Linked DNA regions of Homo sapiens: all the other regions are linked to region 2. The links are contacts of gene promoters, found by promoter capture Hi-C in blood cells and fetal thymus (Javierre and others, 2016). All regions are on one chromosome and are shown on one strand. Each heading gives the region's core, a stretch centred on a gene start or on the middle of the fragment in contact. The rest is flanking DNA. Distances are from core to core; before and after follow the strand shown. Region 1 has its middle 130 kb from the start of NUP35. Region 2 holds the start of FSIP2 (fibrous sheath interacting protein 2). Region 3 has its middle 110 kb from the start of NUP35.

Region 1 (3,032 bases), core at 152-2,651, 2.5 Mb before region 2:
ACTTTAGGATCATTGGATTTATTTCAAGTTACTTTAAATTACTATTTAATAAAATAGAACCAGTGGGTTACTCATTTCCTCATTAATAACACTGATAATTTTCAAAATTAGTTCATATTTTGTACTAAAAACTTACCATAACTTAATATAAAGCCAGCGATTTTGAACCATGTCTGAGGAGGTTCTCTTCCTGAATACTTCCTTATAAAGTTGTTTCACCTGCAGCATTGACGCTACGGATCACAGTAGAGTAAGTTTTCAGTTTATTTCTTTAATCAATAGATGAGATAACTGCTGTAAACAGTTGTGTTAGGGAAATAATTTAACATGATTTGAGTTTGTGTTCTCAAATCTATTGATTAACAGAACTAGGGCATGGGCCCTATGCTAAAGAAAACTTGCAAATCTCCTGCTGGACATTTTTCTTTAAAATGTTAGGCGCACCCACTAAAGGACTAAAGACCATAAAAAAATAGCTAACAAAAAGGTTTATTTCAAAGTATATTGTTCACTTTTAGCCATTCATTTAGAGTCTATATTTACTATAAGCATTTAAAATTATCATTATGCTATTTTCTTTTAATTTAATGGTTTGATGTTAGTGTATGTAAGGTAGCTTTTAATGAGATAAATGACTGGGGGCTGTGAGGCCGGGCGCGGTGGCTCACCCCTGTAATCCCAGCACTTTGGGAGGCCGAGGAGGGCGGATCACGAGGTCAGGAGATCGAGACCATCCTGGCTAACATGGTGAAACCCTGTCTCTACTAAGAATACAAAAAAAAAAATTAGCCGGCCGTGGTGGCGGGCGCCTGTAGTCCCAGCTACTCCGGAGGCTGAGGCAGGAGAATGGCGTGAACCCGGGAGGCAGAGCCTGCAGTGAGCCGAGATCGCGCCACTGCACTCCAGCCTGGGCGACAGAGCGAGACTCCGTCTCAAAACAAAACAAACAAACAAAACAAACAAACAAACAAAAAAAGAACTGGGGGCTGTGTTAGTCAATACGCTCTTGACTTACAATGGCAAAAATCTACTTAAAATAGTTTGGGTGATCCCGGGAATATGGCAGCAGTGAAGGCGTTGTTGTGTCTCCAAATGCCTACATAAAAGTAGACAGCTAGATAGCAACACTAAAAACCTATTGACAATATTTACCACAAAACCGGGAGACAGGCTATCCCCACAAACCAAAGACAGTATATGAAGACAAACCACTTGACCCAAGACCTGTACAGTGAGACAGAGCAGAGGAATCAGTGGAGAAGAGGAGAACCAAATAGTCACAGAAGTTCACCATAAAGTGAGCAGACCAATTTGAGAACAGCAATGAATACTGAGAGGGTTTTGTTCAATCTGGTATTGGGTGAGTGCAAGGGAATGACAGTGTGTGCTGAAGGATCTGGAATCGTTTAGCTTCTAGATTCACCACTGAAACAGACTTGCAAGGATTCTTTTCCAGGACAGTGCCCCACTCTAAGATGAAACAGCTTGGAATAGAGTCAGAGCAAGTCAAGCAAAATAGAGATAACTGAGACTAGAAAAGAGAAGTTTGAGAAAAGATTGAGTTAAAACAACAACAATAAAAACTCTGTAGCTTTGAATTTGAATTCGAAGTGTCAGCATGAACTCATGAATATGGAGAGAAAGACTGAGATGAATTCTAGAAACAATGACCAGCTCAGTAGTAATGTGTATTCCTAATGTCAAATATGTCGTCTTGAAACCAGGGTTTCTTTGGAGAAATTGTCTGCTTACAACATGAGACTGAACCACAATAGCTGCTTGTATCACAATTGAAAGAGGCCACTAGACATTATATTTCACTAAAGATCCATACCACCTGTGGTCTTGCTAAAGGCATTGAACCTGAGTCTGATCAAGCCTTTCACTCTAGCTGCCAATTTGCTGGAAATTGGAAACAGAAGACAGAAGACAGAGTACAGAGGAACATGCTGAACTGTGTCATGAATATGTAATTGGCAAACTTCACTGGGAAAGCAGACAGGTCGAATACAGATCAAATGTAAAGAAAGAGGGTGGGGAGAACACATAGATGAAAGGGATTTAAATGATAATAAAATTTAATGGACAACAATAAACTATAGTGGCTTGGGATGCACATTTGGGTGGCAAAACTATAAAGAAATGAGGAAATTATTGCTATAAAAGTCAAGATAGTGATTACTTTTTTGAGATAGAGGAAGGGCACATAGAGGGGTGATGCAGTTTTGCTGTGTCCCCACCCAAATCTCATCTTGAATTGTAGCTCCCATAATTCCCACATGTGGGAAGGACCCAGTGGGTGATAATTGAATCATGGGGGTAGTTTCCCCCATACTGTTCTCCTGGTAGTGAATAAGTCTCTTGAGATCTGATGGTTTTATAAGAGTTTTCTGCTTTCACTTGGCTCTCATTGTCTCTCGTCTGCTACCATGTAAGACAAACTTTTCTCCTTCCACCATGATTGTGAGGCCTCTCCAGCCATGTGGAACAGTGAGTCCATTAAACCTATTTTTCTTTACAAATTGGCCAGTCTCGGGTGTGTTTTTATTAGAGTGAAAACAGACTAATACAAGGGGCTTCTGAGACAATTGGCAAATTTTTATTTCTTGACTTCGCTGGTGATTTCAAGAGTGGTATTTTGTGTGACTCTCTGTATCTGTTGTATTTTAAAATAAAAGGTTAAGAGTTAAGCAAAAAAGGGATTTTTTTATGTACTATATATCCAAATATTCCAGGAGTAGGTCATAGAATTGTCTGAATTCCGGGGTTCAAATGATCACACTAGGATGAAGTCTTTTTCTCATAATTGTTTGACTCTCTCCATTGACCTTCCCCACATTATCTTCACTTTTAGTCATTCTCTATCTGTTGGGATGGTGGGCCCTGACAGATCCAAGCTTGTGTGATCTTTAAAGCTGGTGGCCCCAAAGAAGCCATGGCTATAAACAACCGCTTTGAACCTTCTGGACAAGAATGGACAAGTACAAGAAGGAGAATGAAAGTGAGGAAAATTAAAGGTACTGATAGAAGTG
Region 2 (3,060 bases), core at 545-3,044:
TAGAAGAGAAGGAGCAGAGGTCTGAGTCAGAGAGAGGTTTGAAGATGTTACATTGCCAGATTTAACGTGTGAGGAAGAGGCAACTTCTAGAAGCTGGAAAGGGCAAGAACATAGGTTGTGATCTAGAGCTTCCAGAAAGAACACAGCACTTCCAATACACTGGTTTCTGCCCAGTGAGATTCTCTTTGGATTACTAACCTCCATCACTGTAAGGTAATATATTTGTGGTAATTTAAGCCACTAAGTTTGTGGTGATTTGCTGGCAATAAGAAACTGATACAGAGACCAAGTAACAGAGGCCATTACACACTTTGCGCTGAGGGCAGTTGGGAGTTTAAAGTGAGGAAGAGAAATGGTCAGTTTGCCATCAAAGATCAAATTGATACAAGATGGATTTTTGGGGTAGATGGTGGCAGGGAGATGTTATAAGGCTGTGGCAATGGTGCAAACAAACAAACAAACAAAAAATGATTAGCGGCTTAACCGGGAGAGTAAAGTAGGAGTAGATAGAATCGGGCAAATTAATTTTAGTGATAAAATTAGTGGGACTTGGGGACCAACTAAACATGGGAGATAAGGGGAAAAAGAAGTATCTAGAAGCATTCCTTAGTTTCTGGCTTGGGTAGACTTTGGTATTGTCACTGAGATAGGAAATGCAGGAAGAAGCCTTTGTTTTTTTTTCCTGTTTTGGTGAAAGTTGTGTGTTGAGATTTGAGTAGATTGAATTTAAGACAATTGTGGGATATCCATATGGAAGCTGGCAATAGACTATATCCCAAGCTTAGATTTCAAATTTAAGAGTCCTAAGCACATGTGTGGAATTACAACAAAGAGAGCAGAGTGCACTGATTAAGAAAACAGCCTCAGGAGCCACCATTTAACAGCAATTGTCAGTCTTCCTCAATCTTTGAAAAATAAAGAGTAATTATTGATAAGGCTACTAAAATAAATAAATGTTTAAAAGGGTGTTTGGCACAGTATATGGAAGTTAGTAGATTCTGAAGAAATGGTAACTGTTATTACTAGTCGGGCCAGAAATAAAAGAGAACAGCAGTGGACCAAAGAAAGTATGAAGTTAAGTCTAAACAACAGGTGGGTTAGACACATACTGTCTCTGCCCTCAGAATACTCCCAGTCTAGTTAGCTTCTTACAGTCAGGGGCCATATTTTACTCACGGCTGTGTCCTGCCCAGTGCTTAGCTCAATGACTGGCCCAGAAGCGTCAAGCACTTTATAAATTTCGGCTGGATGGTTGAGGAGAAAGAGGGAAATAGGATCAAGCTGCAGGAGCAGAGAGGAGGCAGTGGGAGAGTGGTAAAGGGCGCTAGAAAGGAGAAGGAAACCTAGGGGACAGAAGAGGCAGGAGGAAGGCAATGAGCCCCTTAGGAAGCCAACGCGTCTGCCTTGTGGACCTGGTGTGGGAAGAAGCTGTGGGAGCCTGGGGATGGGGTGTGGTCTATATGGGGGAAGATGTAGAATGGGCAAAAACAATCACTCGGGAATTTTTATTGAACGGAACAGGGCTCCTTGGAAGCCAGGGGAAATTAACCAGTTACCCACCAACAAAGCTTATACGTTTTCGTTAGGATTGGCTAAGGCGTGATGGTTTCAGAGAAAGATGAAGTTTCAACTGTGGTCCTCTCAGATCAGGCCTCTCGGACCGATTTTCCCAGCTCTGCGGGCGCTCTACGCGCTGGCGCGAGCCGCCCCTCAGGAGGCCACCGCCCTTCTGGGGCCGCTACCATTGGAAGCCTGGAACGCGGGGGGCGGGGCTGAGGTCGTTGGGCTCTGGCCATTCCTGGTCAGGTCCGGACAGAGGGACAACGGGGTGCTAGAGAAGGAGAGCGGGGCGGGTGAGGAAGGGGCTGAGGGGGCTGTGCCGGCCATGGAGCTGTACCTCGGCGCCTGCTCCAAGCCTGCCAAAGTCGCCGTCACCAAGACGGTCGCCAGCGTCCTGGCCGCGGACACCCAGCAGTGCAGAGACGTGAGTGGCCGCAAGCTGGGCGGCGTCGCCCTCTGGCGGCCGCAGGCCTGCTGGGGAGCGGGGCAGGGATCGCCACACACGGGTCGCGAGGCTCCCAACTGTCCCCCGTCAGGAGGCTGCCCTCTTGCGGCGCCCGGGGGCGGTGGCGGTGGCTCGGACTGTACCGGCCGCAACTGGCAGGCGCGGGACGCCAGGAGAGCTGGTGACCAGGGAAAACGGGAGGACTTCAGGATGCCCCGAACCCTGATTGTATAATTCTTCGGAGTCTTTGGTTGCAATGGAAGTAGATTGGTCTAAACTAAACTAATACTGCCTAAAAGGAAAGACAAAACTCTCCAATTGTGTCTGACAGGGCGTGCACAAAACCCACTTTGCAGGGGTTGGACCGGCTCAGCTACTGGACCTACCTCTCGGGGTCAAGCTGCCTGTGATCCCAGGAAGCAATGCTGTATTCTATACTACGAATTTCGGTGAAAAGGTGAACAAGTTTTTATCGTCTTTCTTTCCTTTACCCTTTACTACTTGCTGTTTAACTCAAAGGCTGCATCATACAAAATTCATTAAAGGAATTTGCATCAACATTTACAGGAAAAAGAAAATCCCACATCTGACCGAAGGTATTGTTTAGAATGCATATGAAGCACTTTCATCTTAATGGTTTGGACATAATCATATTCCAGAAAGTTTAGATTCTTAGTCCTTAATTAACAATTCACGGTACCATATTAATATTCCTTATAATAAAACTTCATATATACTTATATAGTAAGATTTGATGTACTTAGAAACATGTTTAGAAGCTGAAAGGTTATTAGTGATAGCTGCCATTTAATGATATGTTACGATTTTAACTGACAGTATCTTGGACCAAACTCTCTTCACGGGAAACATTATTTTGTTTTGAGTTGAATTCTATTTTACACATAAAGAAAAAAAAAAGAACTGAAACAGTGGGACTTAAAATGAGTTAATATGTTTAGTACTTTAACCTTACTTTAATGAAAGAAAGCCCTGCCTCAATGAGGAAGAGACTCCATAATTTGCCCCAGCCTTTCCATCCAGCATTGTCTCCAACC
Region 3 (2,944 bases), core at 222-2,721, 2.5 Mb before region 2:
ACTTCTGTGTATTTGGAAATTCCTGATCAAAGGCACCATTTTTCTACTTGCTAGTGTTTTCCTGTGTGTGGTAATGTATAATTATCACTAGACGCATGTATGGTGATTTCAGCTGAGGCATGGATAAAATAGGACAAATTAATAGAAATGTATTTATTTTAATGTGTATTAGTAAAAATAATATAACTAACACATCAGAGTTTTGATCCCAAGAATATTACTGTATAGAAAAAGGCCAAATTCAATGTAAAGAAAAAGATTAAGTAAATAATGAGACAAATGTTATTAGGATACATCAAACACTGTAGAAGTTGAACCTGAATGACAAAGGTTTGAAAACACAACTTTGTCAGATTTCCTGGAATGGGCAAGGGGTGTCAGTACCTTTTCTACCTTTTTTCTTACTTCCTTTCATGTAGAAGCAAGTACTTAATTTCTTTTTAAAAATTAATTTTTATTTTTAAATTGTTAGTTGATGAAATTATATATATATATATTTATGGTGTACAACATAATGTTTTGTGGTTTTTTTTGAGACAAGATCTTGCTTTGTTACCCAGCGCTGGAATACAGTGAGGCAAATACTGTTCAATGCAGCCTTGACCTTCTGGGCTCAAGTGATCCTTCCATCTCAGCCTCCCAAGTAGCTAGGGCTACAGGCATGCACCACCATGCCTGGCTAATTTTTAATTTTTTATGTAGAGACAGGGTTTCTCCATGTTGCACAGACTGGTCTTGAACTCCTAGCGCAAGTGATCCACCTGCCTCGGCCTCCCAACGTGCTGGGATTATAGGCATGAGCCACCACGCACAGCTCAGAATGTTTTAATATATGTGTACATTGTGGAATGGATAAAAGAAGCTAATTAACAGCTAATTACTTCACATACGTAACCTTGTTTTGTGGTGGGAACATTTAAAATCTATTCTCTTGACATTTTCAAGTATACCATACGTTGTTATTAACTATTGTTACCATGTTGTACAATATATCTCCTGAATTTATTCCTCCTGTCTAACTGAAATTTTTAAACCTTTGACCAAAATCTCTTCAATCCGCACTCCCCATTCCCATTCCCTGTTTTTTTGTTAAAAATTTTTTAAACAACATATAACAGCGCTATAGCTTCTTATTTAGGCTTTGCATTTAATTAGCTGTTAGACTATTCTCTGCTTCTATGACTTAGGCTTTTTCAGATTCCACATTTAAATAAGATAATGCATTAGTTGTCTTTTGACTGGTTTATTTCACTCAATATAATGTCCTCTAGGTCCATCCATATTGTCTTAAATGGCAGGGTTTCCTTCCTTTTAAAGGCTGAATAGTATTCCATTGTGTTTCTTTTATCCATTGATTCACTGATGGACAGTTAGTTTGATTAGATATCTTGGCTATTGTGAATAATGCTGCAATGAACATGGGAGTGCAAACATCTCTTTGACATACTGATTTTTATCTCCTTAGGATGTATACCCAATAGTGAGCATGCCGGATCATATGGTAGTTCTGTTTTTAATTTTTTGAGGAATCTCTATACTGTTTTCCATAATGACTCTATTAATTTACATTTCTACCAAGTGGCAAGTACTTAGTTTCTTTATGTAGATTATTCCAGTTTGAAAATATTCTTAGCTGGGCTCGGTGGCGGGCGCCTGTGGTCCCAGCTACTCGGGAGGCTGAGGCAGGAGAAGGGCGTGAACCCGGGAGGCGGAGCCTGCAGTGAACCGAGATCGCACCACTGCACTCCAGCCTGGGCGACAGAGCGAGACTCCGTCTCAAAAAAAAAAAAAAAAAAAAAAAAAAGAAAAAAGAAAAAGAAAAAGAGAAAGAAAATATTCTTTAAATTTCCAGCTGCTTTCACTAATGTTCGGCAGATCTGAGGGCTCTTTTTCATTCTACTTGGAGGACTCAACTAGTTATTCTCAACATCTTTTCAAGCACCTTTTGCTGTTCCTTTGTTTTTATTTGTTAATCATGATACTGTAATTGTATTTGCCTTCCAATCAAGAATTGTCAAGTGTTCTATGGGAAAGTTATTCCAGTCACTGAAAAATTTTTTAACAACATATAACAGAGCTATAGCTTATTTGGGCTTTGCATTTAATTGACTGTTAGACTGGACATAGGCAGTTCTGCTATTGGTAAAACGAAACAGGTAATCTCTCTAGAGTTGCTTCTAGCTCTAAGAAAACCTCTCCCAAAACAAAAAACAAACTGTGTTCCTCGATTTCTGATCTCTGTGTTCAAATATGTTATGAGATTTAAAGTTGTGCTGCACTGTACTTTATGGTCAGCCTCACTAAGCTACTTAGCGTTCTCAGAAGTCACTATGTTCTATGCAACTTCAGTTTGCTTCATTTCCCTCAGTTTGTGAATATTAGACTGAACTCCCATAAAGAGAAAGCATTGGTTTTACACGTGAGATATTAAATAAGCATGCATAATCACCCTGTCCATTCTTTGGTATGAGAGGCTCACTCTTAAACTCTGATATAAATAGTTGTCGGGGTTATAAGCACCTCCCAATGTCTATACTTACAGCCCTGAATAAAATGTGGATATGTGATTTTTTGTGTTATTCAGTGTGACTTTTTGTGTTCAGAGAAGACTATTCAGAGTTTACTTTTAGTTTAAAAAATTAGTAATACCTGGTTCTTAGCCTCTTAAGTTTAGCTTCCATATCTTATTATTTTGTTTATAAGTCTAGAAAAGGTTACATATATTTAAAGACCCTTTGAATAATATTTAGTTCAATTTAAACATATTTATTTCCAAGTGTTTTTATATATTTGATATACTTTATTTCCTTTAAAAATAATTCTTTGACTTAATAAAGTCTTCCAAAGCACTGTTTTTTAAAAACTCTCTAATTAAACTTAAAAATATGGTAAACATATATGTTCAATGCTTCGTATAAAGCATTGACTGAAAATTATTAATCTA

Evidence for each region. The method cuts DNA at HindIII sites, captures the fragments that hold promoters and counts their contacts. A CHiCAGO score of 5 or more calls a contact.
Region 1: a contact is called between a fragment that was not itself captured here and the fragment with the promoter of FSIP2 in region 2, in 3 of 17 cell types (M0 macrophages, M2 macrophages and M1 macrophages). The highest score is 12.9, in M0 macrophages.
Region 3: a fragment that was not itself captured here is called in contact with the fragment with the promoter of FSIP2 in region 2 in 3 of 17 cell types (M1 macrophages, M0 macrophages and M2 macrophages); the score reaches 14.9 in M1 macrophages.

What each region holds. Positions count from the first base shown.
Region 1 is chr2:183,257,015-183,260,046 of GRCh38, forward strand. No RefSeq gene overlaps it. Among named protein-coding and RNA genes, the nearest start is that of NUP35, 130 kb to the left of the region's middle. The HindIII fragment of the contact is 2,988 bases long and covers 1-2,895 here.
Region 2 is chr2:185,737,010-185,740,069 of GRCh38, forward strand. FSIP2 (fibrous sheath interacting protein 2) reads left to right here and starts at 1,795. Exons shown (of 23, transcript NM_173651.4): 1 at 1,795-1,984; 2 at 2,337-2,462. The coding sequence starts at 1,886. All of the region lies in intron 1 of FSIP2-AS2 (FSIP2 antisense RNA 2), which reads right to left. RefSeq lists a silencer at 1,927-2,196. The HindIII fragment of the contact is 3,199 bases long and covers 1,567-3,060 here.
Region 3 is chr2:183,237,522-183,240,465 of GRCh38, forward strand. No RefSeq gene overlaps it. Among named protein-coding and RNA genes, the nearest start is that of NUP35, 110 kb to the left of the region's middle. The HindIII fragment of the contact is 4,724 bases long and covers 1-2,944 here.